2 separate regions of the Homo sapiens genome follow, and region 1 is linked to region 2. The links are contacts of gene promoters, found by promoter capture Hi-C in human tissues and cell types (Jung and others, 2019). All regions are on one chromosome and are shown on one strand. Each heading gives the region's core, a stretch centred on a gene start or on the middle of the fragment in contact. The rest is flanking DNA. Distances are from core to core; before and after follow the strand shown. Region 1 overlaps NIPSNAP1 (nipsnap homolog 1). Region 2 holds the start of SEC14L6 (SEC14 like lipid binding 6).

Evidence for each region. The method cuts DNA at HindIII sites, captures the fragments that hold promoters and counts their contacts. A contact is called where the count stands out against the background at its distance.
Region 1: a fragment that was not itself captured here is called in contact with the fragment with the promoter of SEC14L6 in region 2 in 1 of the 25 tissues and cell types used here (dorsolateral prefrontal cortex).

What each region holds. Positions count from the first base shown.
Region 1 is chr22:29,566,070-29,570,814 of GRCh38, reverse strand. NIPSNAP1 (nipsnap homolog 1) reads left to right here. Exons shown (of 10, transcript NM_003634.4): 2 at 283-410; 3 at 608-653; 4 at 1,528-1,622. Among named protein-coding and RNA genes, the nearest start is that of NIPSNAP1, 13 kb to the left of the region's middle. RefSeq lists an enhancer at 1,341-1,635. The HindIII fragment of the contact is 3,498 bases long and covers 1-3,370 here.
Region 2 is chr22:30,544,052-30,548,930 of GRCh38, reverse strand. SEC14L6 (SEC14 like lipid binding 6) reads left to right here and starts at 2,190. Exons shown (of 12, transcript NM_001193336.4): 1 at 2,190-2,302. The coding sequence starts at 2,249. It also overlaps the pseudogene SIRPAP1. The HindIII fragment of the contact is 18,463 bases long and covers 1-4,879 here.

The DNA.
Region 1 (4,745 bases), core at 372-2,871, 980 kb after region 2:
AAGTGGAGGCAGGGAGGCTAGAGAGAGAAGTGGGAGGTGGGGCTGCCTCTCCTGGCGTCCTGAGGCTCTGCAAAGCTTCAAGAAGCCAACTGGGCAGCTGGAATATCTGTAGAAAGGAGCTGGCTCCAATAGCATTTCACAGTCTGGAGCTGCCACAGGACTCCGTGGCCCTGTTCCCAGAAATGTGGGTCACTGGTCTAGGGGAGCAGGACATCCAAGTGGATGGAATTGCTGGGGCTCCCCCAACCTCCGCGCGTCCCCCTCAACTCCTCTGTCCTGCAGTTTCTATTCCAAGGACAATGAAGGCAGCTGGTTCCGCTCCCTCTTTGTTCACAAAGTGGATCCCCGGAAGGATGCCCACTCCACCCTGCTGTCCAAGAAGGAAACCAGCAACCTCTATAAGATCCAGTGTGAGTGGCTGCTGAGCTGACCAATTTCTGCCCTTTCAGGGGCTCTGGGGGCCTGTGAGGCTCCAGGAAGGAGATGGGAGGGTCTGGAATGTCCTCAGCTGTCCTGGGACCCCTGGCCTTGATGGGCTCCCCTCACCCCAAGTTCTTCCCTGTGTACACACCCTACCTCACTTCTTGTTCTCTGTCCTCTGTTGCAGTTCACAATGTAAAGCCTGAATACCTGGATGCCTACAACAGCCTCACGTGAGCACCCTGCATCCATACATCCCATCCCCTGCTTGGGTGGGGAACACACTTTCAGCAAATTTGCGGAACATCCTCCACCCTGTTCTTTTCTGTAGAAATCCAGGAGATGTAGATTTCTTTTATTTCTGCCTTTTTCTTTCTTTCTTTCTTTCTCTCTTTCTTTTTTTTTGAGATGGAGTTTTGCTCTCGTTGCCCAGGCTGGAGTGCAATGGCGCGATCTCGGCTCACTGCAACCTCTGCCTCCCAGGTACAAGCGATTCTCCTGTTCCAGCCTCCCAAGTAGCTCGGATTACAGGCATGCGCCGCTAAGCATGGCTAATTTTTTTGTATTTAGTAGAGACAGGGTTTCACCATGTTAGTCCGGCTGGTCGCAAACTCCTGACCTCAGGTGATCCACCTGCCTCGGCCTCCGAGTGCTGGGATTACAGGCATGTGCCACTGCGTTTGGCCCCATTTTCTTTCTTTCTTTTTTTTTTTTTTAAGAGATGGTCTCCAGGAGGCGGAGGTTCCAGTGAGCCGAGATTGCGCCATTGCACTCCAGCCTGGGCAACAAGAGCAAAACTCTGTCTCACACACAAAAAAGAGAGATGGGATCTCACTTTGCTTCCCAGGCTGGTCTCAAACTACTGGGCTCAAGCAATCCTCCTGCCTCAGCCTCCCAGTGTTGGGATTACAGGTGTGAGCCACTGTGCCCAGCCAGGATGTAAATTTCAGTGTCGGAAGTCCTGAGGGCCTCTTGCCTAGCTTCTGCATTTTAGAGATGGAGAGTCTGAGGCCCAGCCCCAGGGTCTGTTTGAACTGAGTTTGAACCCTTATCTCAGAGGCCCTGGTGGCTATGTGAACCCTGCCCCTCTCTGCACCTCCCCCACAGGGAGGCTGTGCTGCCCAAGCTTCACCTGGATGAGGACTACCCATGCTCACTCGTGGGCAACTGGAACACGTGGTATGGGGAGCAGGACCAGGCAGGTAAGGCGCTCACCTCCCTAGTGCCATTGCCACTGCCCAGCCCTGGCCTCCAGCACCTTTCACACCTGGCTGTTCTCCACTCCCTCTCCACAACAGCACCTGGTGGGGCTCTTACTAAAACCTCATCACCTCACTCCCCTGCTCAAATACCTGTCCTGGCTCCCCTGTGCCCTCAAGGTGACCCGTGAAGCCTGTGACTCCTTCCCGGCCCTGCCCCCAGCCTCATGGCACCAAATCCTCCATGCCTCGCTGTGCTGTCCCACCCAGGACTCAGTTCCTCAGATTGACAGTTTCACTCTTTAGTTCCAGACTACTGCTCATTCTCTTTCTTCTGCCTTAAGCATTATTTCTTGTTTGCCTGCTTTACCTGGATCACTGTCTTTTATTCTTTTTTTTTCCGAGACTGAGTTTCACTCTTGTTGCCCCAGGCTGGAGTGCAGTAGTGCAATCTCGGCTCACTGCAACCTCCGCCTCCCCAGTTTAAGCAATTCTCTTGTCTCAGCCTCCTGAGTAGCTGGGATTACAGGCATGTGCCACCACGCCCAGCTAATTTTGTATTTTTAGTAGAGACGGGATTTCACCATGTTGGTCAGGCTGGTCTTGAACTCCTGATCTCAGGTGATCCACCTGCCTCAGCCTCCCAAAGTGCTGGGATTACAGGTGTGAGCCACCGCACCCGGCCTTTTTTTTTTTTTTCTTTTTTCTTTTTTGAGACAGGGTCTCGCTCTGTCACCCAGGCTGGCAGATAGTGGCACAGTCTTGGCTGACTGCAACCTCCACCTCCTGAGTTGAAGATATTCTCCTGCCTCAGCTTCCCGAGTAGCTGGGATTACTGGCCTGTGCCACCAGGCCTGGCTAATTTTGTATCTTTAGTAGAGATGGGGTTTCACATGTTGGTCAGGCTGGTCTCGAACTTCTGACCTCAGGTGATCCACCTGCCTCGGCCTCCCAAAGTGCTGGGATTACAGGAGTGAGCCACCACTCCCGGCCTTTTTTTTTTTTTTTTTTTTTTTTGAGACAGGGTCTTGCTCTGTCACACAGGCTGGAGTGCAGTGGCATAATCTTGGCTCACTCGAGCCTCAATTTCCCAGGCTCAAGCAGTACTCCCACCTCAGCTTCCTGAGTAGCTGGGACTATAGGTGCGCTCCACCATGCTCGGCTAATTTTTGTGTTTTTTGGTAGAGACGGGGTTTCTCCATGTTGCCCAGGCTGGTCTTGAATTCCTGAACTCAAATGATCCTACCTCCTCGGCCTCCCAAAGTGCTAGGATTGTAGACATGAGCCACCGTGCCTGGCCTTTCAGTTTTATTCATTTTTAAATTTTCATTTATTTATTTATTTTTGAAACCAGGTCTTGTTACCCAGTGGGGAGTGCAGTGGTGTGATCACAGCTCACACAGCCTTAACCTCCTGAGCTTAAGCAATCCTCCTACCTCAGCCTCCTGAGTAGCTGGGACCACAGGTGCATGCCACAATGCCCAACTAATTTATTTTAAATTTTTTGTAGAGACGGGATCTCCCTATGTTACCCAGGGTGGTCTCAAACTCCCGGGCTCAAGCGATCCTTCCACTTTGGCCTCCCAAAGTGCTGGGAGTACAGGCATGAGCCACAGTGCCTGGACTATTCACTTTTCTATTTTGGCATAGATGTCACCTCCTCCTGGAAGGCTGCCGAGATTTCCTCCACGCGGGCTGGGTCAGGCACCTTCCTTAGCTCTCCAGGCCTCAGTAATTACCTCCTCACGCCCTGATCATGTACCCCTATAGCTGCCTGTTTAGTTGTCTGTCTCCATATATGGGTGAATCCCCAATATGCAGCACATATTTGTGGAATAAATAGGAGTTCTTCTTGTCTGAGCTGGTGTCTTACAGTCCCAGGGGCACCCCTAGCATGCCCCATCCCAGCCTAATAGACACATCAAAGTTGGCACCAGCTATAAGAACCCACACATGAATTTGGCTGACTCACAGCATCTCAGCCACTCAAAGGGACCTCAAATTCAGACCCACACTGTCCAAAATGATAGCCACTAACCACATGTAGTTATTTATTTATTTATTTTTTTGAGATGGAGCCTCGCTCTGTACTGTCACCCAGGCTGGGGTACAGTGGTGCAATCTTGGCTCACTGCAACCTCTGCCTCCTGGGTTCAAGTGATTCTCCTGCCTCAGCCTCCTGAGTAGCTGAGGTTACAGGCGTGTGCCACCACACTTGGCTAATTTTTGTATTTTTAGTAGAAACAGGGTTTCACCATGTTGGTCAGGCTGGTCTTGAACTCCTGACCTCATGATCCTCCCGCCTGAGCCTCCCAAAGTGTTGGGATTACAGGCATCAGCCACTGCGCCTGGCCTATTTATTTATTTTTTTGAGACAGCGTCTCACTCTGGTTTCCCAGGCTGGACTGCAGTGGTGCAATCACAGCTCACTGCACCCTTGACCTCCCGGGCTCAGATGATTCTCTCACCTCAGCCTCCCAAGTAGCTGGAACTACAGGTGTGCACCACCACAGCCAGCTAATTTTTTATATTTTTAGTAGAGACAGGGTTTCGCTATGTTGCCCAGGCTGGTCTTGAACTCCTGGACTCAAGCAATCCGTCAGCCTTGGCCTCCTGGACTACTGAGATTACAGGTGTGAGCCACTGCGCCCTGGCCTCACATGTAGCTATTGAAATTTATATTAGTTAAAATTACATAAAATTTAAAGTTCAAGCTGTGTGCCAAGGTGCTCACCTGTAGTCCTAGCTACTTGGGAGGCTGAGTTGGGAGGACTGCTTGAGCCCAGGAGTTCGAGGCCGTGATTGAATACCATCACACCTATGAATAGCCACTGCACTCCAGCCTGGGCAACACAGTGAGGACCCTGTCTCTAAAAAAGAAAAAATTCAGGACTGAATATGGTGGCTTATGCTTATAATCCCAGCAGATTAGGAGGCTGAGGTGGGAGGAACACTTGAGGCCAGGAGTTTGAAACCAGCCTGGGCAACATAGTGAGACTTTGCTTCTATAAAGAAAATACATATTAAAAAAAAAAGAAGAAAAGATTTTAAAAAGAAAAAATTCAGTTTCTTAGTCATACTAGCTACATTTCAAATGCTCACTCATATACACACAGGCTCATGCAG
Region 2 (4,879 bases), core at 941-3,440:
GATTTGCTTCCCAGCAACAACAACAACAACAAAAAACACATCAGAAAGGACATTGCCAAAGAGAAGGCATTTGAAGTAGGCCTTGTGGGAGGCAGAGGCTGAATACAGGGTGTTGCAAGAAAGGCATTCCAGGAAGAGGGAACAGCAAAAGAAAAAGCTGGAAAGAGAATGGAGAGGAGGCAAGGGACCTGGGATAAGGGAGAAAGGAAGGGGAAATTAGCTCAGGAGGGACCCAAAAGGGCCTTGAGTCTAGGCGAAGGCATCTACAGTTTTTAACTGAGGGTAACAAGGAGCCCAGGGAGGCTTTGGAGCAGAGGAGGGACTTACTCAGAAGCCAGCTTGAAGAAGATGGGCCAAGGCTGGGTGCGATGGCTCACTCCTGTAATCCCAGCACTTTGGGAGGCTAAGGTGGGCAGATCTCTTGAGGTCGAGAGTTCAAGACCAGCCTGGCCAACAAGGTGAAACCCTGTCTCTACTAAAAATACAAAAATTAACCATGTGTGGTGGCGTGCGCCTGTAATCCCAGATACTCGGGAGGCTGAGACAGGAGAATTGCTTGAACCTGGGAGGAGGAGGTTGCAGTGAGCCACTGCCCTCCAGCCTGGGCCACAGAGCAAGAAGACTCTGTCTCAAAAAATAAATACATAAAAATAAGGAAGAAGAAGAAGAAGATGGGCCAGAGGTGCTGGGAGCAGGGACCCAGTGGGAGGAGACAAGAGTAGGGGAGAGTTCCTGATTTTACCCCTTATGGCTCAAGCTCCAGCCTGCAGTGTGTGGGGTACTGGGGAGGCCCCACCCTGTAGAAGAGGCAGATCTGCTCATTGCCCTCTTCCAGGGCTAAGGGGGACTCTCCTGGGACTTAGTAAGGCCACCTATGTGCATGCCTCTGGCAGGAGCCAGGCATGTGGGATACAATGTCCTGAGTAAGCACCAGGTCCAGATAGTCCTGATTGTCACTTACTACATGGCTGTATGGCCCCAGGCATGCTGCTTCCCTCTTCCAGGCTCTGTCAGGTAGGGAAGAACAGTCTGGGGCTCAAGGAGCACATGAAGCCTTTGGACTAGAACTTGACATGGAGCCCAGCAAACGGTTTCTGATTAGAGCTAAAGCTGGTGATGTTCTGCCTGTATCACCTCAGCCTCACTACTCCCCAGCAGCAGCACCTGTGTTTCTCTGCCTAAGTACGCTCTCCAGCCTTCTGAATTGTGTGCACAGCAGGCCAGCAGTGCCAGCAGAATTGACAGCCCCTGGAGCAGCCCTCAACTGAAGACTGTCCCGAGATGCTGCATAAATACCCCAGCTCCCTCCCCACTCAGGCAAGGAAACGCTGATGGGCAGGTTCCCTGCTGTCTCCCAGAAGTCCCCACTGGGATTGAGCTCTTCTGTACTTCCTTGATAACCAGGCCTATACAGCTGCCTTCCGTTCTCTGTCTCATTTCCACACTTCCCTACTTGTGTTTCTCAGGACACCTCCCTAATAAACTTGCCCTGAACTCCTTGTTTCAGGGCAACCCAGACTACTACAAATAACTACTGTGTTCCAGGCCCCGTGCACACCGCGTGATCTCATGTGTCCTCACCTTGGGCTCTGGCTTTCTGCTTGTCCAGTGGGTGGTGGGGGCAGATGTAGCCAGGAGTCCCTCCTCACCTCTCATCCTGGCTCCCAGGCCAAGTGTGGCCCAGCTCAGGATTGCAAATCCACCTGTTTGGGTCTGGGCCTGGGAAGTTTCATCCTCAACCCTGAAGCCATGTGCCTTAACATCTGGGATGAATCATGGGCAGTTGCTCTGGACATGTCAGGTGGTAGATGAAGCCTGGGATGAGAGTGAAGGCATGATGACAGTGACTTCCGGGCCTCTGTTGGGGGTGAGAGATGACTTCTCCTGGCTCAAAGAGGCATCCGATGGGACCACAGGAGTAGAGGGTAGGGGACTGAGAGGCAGGGTGAACAGCCGCCTCCGTGTGTGTGTGAAATCAGGTGGTGTCAATTTCAACATGTCATCAACGCTCCGAGGAAACATCGCTGTCCTAATTTTGCAAGTGAGGATGTGAACCCAGGGCAGGCTGAATCCAGGGCCCCATGCCTGAGGCACCTAGTAAGGAATGAGCCCCACCTGTTGCCCTGAGGCTCACAGGAAGTAGTGGGATTTCTGGGTGGTGATAAATGTGGGCATGGCTACCAGCTGGCAAAAGGCAGGCCACCTGGAGGGAGCCACAGAGTGGAGCCTGGACCCATTCATGGGCAGCATGAGTGGACAAGTGGGTGACCTGAGCCCATCGCAGGAGAAGTCGCTGGCCCAGGTGAGTGAAGGGAGAGACTCCTACACCAGCCTCAGTTTCTCCTTCTGCCACGGGGAAGGGCAGGACTCAAGGTCCCTGAGTTTCTTCTGAACTCTCCAGCTCTGGGTCTCTTCCCAACCCTGAGGGGCTTGGTAGCCAGAGGCTACACCAGCACTAACCAATAGAAATACCACGCCACCACAAACGCAAGCCACATAGGTCATTTGAAATTTTCTTTCTTCCTTTTTTTTTTTTTTTTTTTTTTTGAGACGGAGTTTCGCTCTTGTTGCCCAGGTTGGAGTACAACGGCACAATCTTGGCTCACTGCAACTTCTGCCTTCTGGGTTCAAGCAATTCTCCTGCCCTAGCCTCCGGAGTAGCTGGGATTACAGGCACCTGCTACCACGCCTGGCTAATTTTTGTATGTTAGTAGAGATGGGGTTTTAACCACGTTGGTCAGGCTGGTCTGGAATTCCTGATCTCAGGTGATCCACCCACCTTGGCCTCCCAGAGTGCTGGGATTACAGGCATGAGCCACCATGCCCGGCCTTTTTGAAATTTTCTAGTAGCTCCATTAAAGAACTAAAAAGAGGCTGGGCGCTGTGGCTCATGCCTGTAATCCCAACACTTTGGGAGGCTGAGGTGGATGGATCATTTGAGGTCAGGAGTTTGAGACCAGCCTGGGCAACAGGGTGAAACCCTGTGGCAGGAGAATCGTTTGAACCCAGGAGGTGGAGGTTGCAGTGGGCCAAGATTCTGCCACTGCACTCCAGCCTGGGAGACAGAGCAAGACTATGTCTCAAAAACAAAACAAAAACAAAAACAAAACAAAACAAAACAAAAAAAACCTAAAAAGAAACAATTGAAGTAAAGTTTAATGATGTATTAACTTCAATATATAATCTAATCAATATAAAAACAACTGGTCTGGTGCAGTAGCTCGGGCCTATAATCCCCGCACTTTGAGGCGGGAGGATCACTGGAGCCCAGGAGTTCTGGCAACATAGCAAGAACACATCTTTACAAAAAATTAAAAAATTAGCAACATAGGGAGACCCCATCTCTAAAAACAACAACAACAACAACAAATAGCTGGGTGTGGTGGCCCATGCCTGTAGTCCCAGCTACTCGGGAGGCTGAGGTGGGAGGATGGATTGAGCCTAGGAGGTCGAGACTGCGGTGAGCCAACATCGTGCCACTGCACTCCAGCCTGGGCAACAGAGCTAGACCCTGTTTCAAAAAAAAAAAAAATGAGTGTTTTGAGGGGATACTGAGTCTTTGGAATCCTGTGTATTTTACACTCACAGCAGACCTCAGTTCAAACTAGCCACATTTTAAGAATTTGTGGCTACCATATTGGACAGGGCTGGTGAAGGCTGCTGGCCTGCTGGGGAGGCTGCATTGGCAGGTCACGTCCTCAGCTATGAGCTGGAGGAGGCAGGAACAGGGTGCATTTTCGTCTCTAGCCTGGGAGGAGTCCCTTGAAGGTCCTTAGGGTCTTTCCTTCGTGGTCGCACACGGCAAGCTTGGGGTCCAGGAAGACTCACACGGTTCCATGAGCATGGAGGCAACGACGGGTCCTTGGAGGTCTCGATTCCTGCCATCATAGGGTTTTGCATGGGGTAGGTGGTGTATGCGGGGTGGGAGGTGCCGGGATGGGGTTCCCGGGGCAAAGAAGGGTGGCGACCGGGCGCTGGAGTGGACTTTCTTTTTTTCACGTTGTTGTTGTTTTAAGAAAAAAACAAAACAAAACACCACAGATCAAGTTTTCTAACACCTCAGTTTCAAGATTGCACGTTTCACATTTCTCAGTAATTTACAGGCACCCACAGCGAGATGTTGCTTAGTGCTAGCTGGAGGGGCAAGCTCAGGTCTAGAAGGGAGAGATGCGTCCGGGTGGAGCAACACAGTTGGGCCCCAGGGAGTCTTGGAGGGACCTGAGGAAGCGGAGGGTTTTGTCTCCAGTCCTTTGGGAGGGATCCTCTCCTCCTCCAGGACTCATGGCTCTTTAGCCTAGGGATGGGGGAGGCCAGGACTGTTGGCAGCAACCTCACCAGGTCTGGATATGGGTTCCAGAGTTTTTTTCCAGCTTTTCCATGGAAGTGGTAGTTTGATCTAAAGGGGAAATCTTCCCCACTCAAGCCCCAGTTGAGGGGTGGTGGTGGTGGTGGTGGAGGTCAGGGGAGGTGGGATTTTCTCCTCCCCACCCTGGAAGATCAGGCTTCGGAGCATCGGGGAGGTAGTCAAGGGTCTTCAAAACCCACATGGTGATGGACGGAGGCACAAGAGTTCTTGGACCCCAGGCAGTTCTGGCCGCTTCCCAGGTCGGTTCCCTGGCTGGTTTGGCAACGTCAGCCTCCAGGTGTGTGGCAATGTGGGGAGAGGGGGCCGTGGCTGCTGGAGAGCCAAGGAGGGGTGGGGAGAGAAGAGCCACCCTGGCCCCTGGGTCCCAGAGCCTGCACCGCCCCAGCCCTCCGGGAACTGGGCTGGCTGTGCTCATCATGGCGGCTCCTTGTGGGACAAGGAAGAGCATGGAGATGGGTGCTAGAGCAAACCACGGTCCCATTCACTTCCTCGGGACCTGGATGCTGGCATACT